Regions from separate parts of the Homo sapiens genome. Here region 2 is linked to region 1. Evidence: promoter capture Hi-C in human tissues and cell types (Jung and others, 2019). All regions are on one chromosome and are shown on one strand. Each heading gives the region's core, a stretch centred on a gene start or on the middle of the fragment in contact. The rest is flanking DNA. Distances are from core to core; before and after follow the strand shown. Region 1 holds the start of UMOD (uromodulin). Region 2 has its middle 6.1 kb from the start of GPRC5B.

Region 1 (2,644 bases), core at 46-2,545:
AAACACCGCATGTTCTCACTCACAGGTGGGAATTGAACAATGAGAGCACTTGGACACAGGAAGGGGAACATCACACCCAGGGGCCTATTGTGGGATGCGGGGAGCGGGGAGGGATAGCATTAGGAGTTATACCTAATGTAAATGACAAGTTAATGGGTGCAGCACATCAACATGGCACATGTATACATATGTAACAAACCTGCACGTTGTGCACTTGTACCCTAAAACTTAAAGTATAAAAAAAAAAAAGATCAATGCAGTGATCATGGTGATATTTTCCTGCTCAGCCCAAGTTCACACATATTTTATTTTTCTCAACATGATGACAGCCACTCTCACACTGACTTTTGGAATGTCATGTATGTTGAACTGGGTCTGAAGACATGGTTTTAACTCAGGCTCTGTCATTTTCTACCTCAGTGATTGCACAACAGCAAAGCAGAATTTTCACTACTTCCATGAATATAATCATTACTATATGACTTTACTTGCATCATCTCCTTTGGTTACTATTACTACTGTGGGAGATGGGTATTCTCATTTTATAGACAAGGAAATTGACCTCTGGACCTCAGGAAGGTTAAGAAATGAGCCCACTGCCACACAATAAACACCAGATAAAGGAGGCAGACTGACTCCAAAGTCAGTCTATTTAAGTGCAAATTTATTTCGCCTCCAAAGGGACCTCCCAGTCATCAGACCTGATTCTTTGTTGTACAGAGTGGGTCAGGTCCAGTGATGTCTGAACTACCTTCTGGTTCTGACTTTCAGCCATTCTCAGCTCCTCTCTTGCTTGTGTCTGGATTCTAAGGCTGATCTCATGAGAATGGGTGTTTCAGAAGGGTGCCCTCTCCAAGACAGGTGCACCTCCCATCTGGGGCAGTGAATATCCCTTTTGTCCTTATGCAGCCTGGCTTCAGATACTGGCTTCTGCCTGGCTCCTTGATCCCACCCTGCCCTTGTCAGTGACCAAGAAGAAGCCCAGCACCTTGGCACTGCTTTCCCAGTTAATTTCTAACTATGGAATCTCTTGCTGTTAGAAGGTGCGAAACAGTGACCTTGTATTTCCGGGCACAGGTGTGACCCCCCAATGTCAATCATTTGGGGTCTCTAGCTATTAGGAAAAAGAACAACAACAACCTCACAGCTTGGACAAGGCAAACATTATGCCAGGAGGAAAAAATATTCCACCCCCAAGAAAACAATATCAAAAAACAGAACTAGAGACTAATTGGAGGAGAGATTGCCAGCCTGGGGCAAATGTGTATATATAAGTATGAGGCACATCATGACCAGACTAACTCTACCTTTCTGGCTTCAGGTAAGGCTATCTGTAGCTGTCTTCTCCTAGCCCAGCTTCTCCCCATCCTATTTGAGGGAGGTAGGAGAGGAAATTAAGACCTTGGACACTGGGGTCAGACCTGGATTTGAGTCATTATTCTGCCAATTATTGGCTTCATGATCTTTAGTAAGTTAGTTTTCCTCTCTTTGATCCTCTCTGTCCTAGTAACAATGACTACTATTTTTTGACTTATTCCATGAATATTAGTTATGCACCTATTATGTGCCAGGTACCAGGGTTACAACAATGAACAACTTGCTATGTGCTGGGCCCTGCTCGACATATGTCATCTTAGTTAATCCCAGTGACAATATGCAGTGTTTTAGGTCGCATCTTATTAGCGGGTCATAAAATCATTCCTTTTGTGGGTTATATCCAGGGACTTCTTTTAATTAAATATAATAGAATATGTCAGTAAGCAATACAAATTTGAGGCAAGCAGTTAGCCTCTTTGTCCCCCTGTTTTCTCATCTGCAAACTAGGATAATACTTATCTCATAGGGTTGTGGTAAGAATTAAATCACTTAATGTAGTAAGGATATCAATTGTCTTATAAAATTTTATGTGTGTGTGCACATACATGCAGAAGCGACTGCACTAGATCATGACATAAAATGTTTTTCTTTCTTTCTGTCTTTTTTTTTTTGGGGGGGGGGGATGGACTCTCTGTCACCCAGGCAGGAGTGCAGTGGCACGATCTCAGCTCACTGCAACCTCTGCCTCCCAGGTTCAAGCAATCCTCCTGTCTCAGCCTCCCGAGTAGCTGGGATTACAGGCGCCCACCACCATGCCCGGCTAATTTTTGTATTTTTATTAGAGATGGGGTTTCACCATGCTGGCCAGGCTGGTCTCAAACTCCTGACCTTGTGATCCACCCCCTCAGTCTCCCAAAGTGTTGGGATTACAGGCATGAGCCACTGCACCTGGCAACATAAAATGTTTTTCTTTTAGTACATCATGGTCACGAAGATCTGGAAAACGTTGCTCTAGGACCCAATGCCTTTGAGCACATGAATGTCTTTGAACTGAGCCTGGCCCATCATAGATATTCAGTTTGTGAAAGCAACAATCTCCATTTCACAGACAAAAACGGAGACTTAGTAAACTGAAATACCCACATCACAGTGTTAGTGATCAGTAAAGCAGGGATTTGAACCTCAGGTGCAGGCTGCAGCTCCTACATACTTAACCAACATGCCACCCTATTTTGCTGCTATAAACACTGGGGTAATACTGGCATCCACCCTGGACTATTTTTCCAATTGGAAGAAATAGTAAGTGACCACTCCAGAAACATTTAAA
Region 2 (2,644 bases), core at 60-2,559, 460 kb after region 1:
GTACATCACAGTGTCATAAGGAAAAACTAAGAGAAAGTGAAGCTGATCAGAGGATTCCTGCCCGGGGGTAAAACAGCAGGATGGGGCAGTGGTTACAGCCTGGGCTCTGGGGCTGGCACATCCAGGCCCTGCCTCCACCCTTTCTCTTAAAGTGGATCCCACATCACTCTAAGCTTCATAACCGAGTAAAGATAAATGGTCCAACATTTCTTAAACCTCCACCAGGAAGTTCATAGACGCCTATAAATAAATAACCTAGAATTGCAACCATTCAAATCATTCTTTGTTTTACATAGGGGTAGAGGCTTGAGTTTGTCTTTGGGGGGGACAGACAGTTCCTTTGTTTTGGGGACACAGCAAGGGAACTTCTAGTAGTGAAATGACAAAGCAGAAACCTTTTTTTGTTGTTGTTGTTTTAGACCGAGTCTCACTCTGTTGCCGAGGCTGGAGCGCAGTGGCGTGATCTCGGCTCACTGCAACCTCTGCCTCTCAGGTTCAAGCGATTCTCCTGCCTCAGCCTCCATTGTAGCTGGGATTACAGGCATGTGACACCATGCCCAGCTAATTTTTTTGTATTTGTAGTAGAGACAGGGTTTCACCATGTTGGCCACGCTGGTCTCGAACTCCTGACCTCAGGCTATCTGCCCACCTCGGCCTCCCAAAGGGTAAAGCAGAAACCTTCTATGAAGATAGAGAGCTGCTTCTGTGACAGATTTGCGTCAGGAGAAAAGGAGGGGAGGGGAGAAGGGAAAGGGGCCACACACTTTCTATCTGGCCCTGGGATTGGGTTTGATCCCCCTGAGATAGTGGTGACTCAGAAGCTCAGAAGCTACCCTTACAGGTGGCTGGGTAGGGCAGTGGACATGTGTGCCACCAGCTCAAGCCCCTGCTCCTTCAACTCTCAGGAAGGTCACTTGGGGCAGACACTGAGGTTTCCTGCCTCAAGCACCTTTCCCTCACCCTCCTTCTTTACTGAGTCTCTTGGTGCCAAGAGCTCACTTCTCAGCCTCCTTTGTACTAGGGGAAGCGAGGTGATTCAGTTCTGACCAAGGAAATATAAGGGTAATTCTGCACCTGGGGTGAGAAGTAGGGCAGTTCTAGGAATGATTTTCTTTCTGATTAACAGGGAGACTCACAAGAAGAGCTCTCTTCCCTGGACAGCTTCTTTCCCATACTGGAGATTGTCAAGTGAAGATGTGATGTTTGGTGCCATGGCAGCTATCTTGTGACCATGAGGTCCCAAGCAGAGGACAGCTGATCAGAAGACTACTAGAAAGACACTGGGCCCCTGTTTACATTGTTGAGCAATGGACCAACTGTGAGATCACTCACATCCCGACTTATTGTTGTGTGATAACAAACATCCCTATTGTGTAGGCCGTAACAATTGTCCTGCTGCTTAAATGTTTCCTGACAGCTTTGGGGGCTTTGGGAGAGTGTCCCCATGGCAGCCTTGCAGGGGACCAATGGGGCCATGATGAGGCTACTCCAAGCAATCTTGCGTACTCACAGACAAGAACCTGTAGGAAGAGAGGGTGGCAGTCACATTTTGACTGCAACTGACACACTGGTTTGTGGATGTCTATGGGGACACCCCATTGGGGACTCCCAGAAACAACTGAAGAGCACTTTGCCACTGTGAATGAATTTTCTTTTCTTTTTTCTTTTCTTTTCTTTTCTTTCTTTCTTTCTTTCTTTTTTTTTTTTTTTTTTTTTGACAAGGTCTTGCTCTGTCACTCAGGCTGGAATGCAGTGGTGTGATCACAGCTCACTGCAGCCTCAACCTCCTAGACTCAAACAACCCTCCCACCTCAGCCTCCAGAGTAGCTGGGACTACAGGCACATGCTACCACACCTGGTTACAAATTTTTTGTAGAGATGGGAGTTTTGCTCTGTTGCCCAGGCTGGTCTTGAACTCCATGGCTTAAGTGATCCTCCCACCTCAGCCTCTAAAAGTGCTGGGATTGCAGGTGTGAGCCGCTGTACCCAGCCTGAATTTTCTAACACATAATGGGCAGTTACAGTTACAGACTGAGGGCATTAAAAGCAGCAATCCATTGGTGATGCCTGTCATGGGCACAAAATAGTGGAATGGTGGCAATGGTGTGTTCCACATTTGTTTACTCAGTGCTCCTGGCTGCTCACCCCAAAGATGCTTCCAGAAATGCCAACAGCCTGAAGTGTCCCCCATTGCTGCTCTAAGGAGAACATCAAGTGCTGGAGTCTCAGGGGAGCCTGGGAACCTTCTCAGCCTAGCCAAGCAAAGTATGTAGGTAGGAAGTTGATATGGTTTGAATATTTGTCCACGTTAAATTTCATGTTGAAATGTGATTCCCGGTGTTGGAGGTGTCTGGGTCATGTGGATGTATCCCTCATGAGTGGCTCACAGTAGTGAGTGGGTTCTCTCTCTGTTAGTTCACACAAGAGCTGGCTGATTAGAGGAGCCCGGCATCTCTCTGGCTCTCTCTCTCTCGCCATGTGACACACCAGCTCCCCATTCGCCTTCTGCCATGAGCAAAAGCTTCCCGAGGCCTCCCCAGAGGCCGAGCAGATGCTGGGGTCAAACGTGTACAGCCTGCAGAACTGTGAGCTAATACATCTCTTTTCTTTATAAATTACCCAGTCCCAGCCACATGTGGTGGCT

Evidence for each region. The method cuts DNA at HindIII sites, captures the fragments that hold promoters and counts their contacts. A contact is called where the count stands out against the background at its distance.
Region 2: a fragment that was not itself captured here is called in contact with the fragment with the promoter of UMOD in region 1 in 2 of the 25 tissues and cell types used here (H1 embryonic stem cells and thymus).

What each region holds. Positions count from the first base shown.
Region 1 is chr16:20,351,366-20,354,009 of GRCh38, reverse strand. UMOD (uromodulin) reads left to right here and starts at 1,295. Exons shown (of 11, transcript NM_003361.4): 1 at 1,295-1,321. The HindIII fragment of the contact is 15,409 bases long and covers 1-2,644 here.
Region 2 is chr16:19,889,670-19,892,313 of GRCh38, reverse strand. No RefSeq gene overlaps it. Among named protein-coding and RNA genes, the nearest start is that of GPRC5B, 6.1 kb to the right of the region's middle. The HindIII fragment of the contact is 3,795 bases long and covers 1-2,644 here.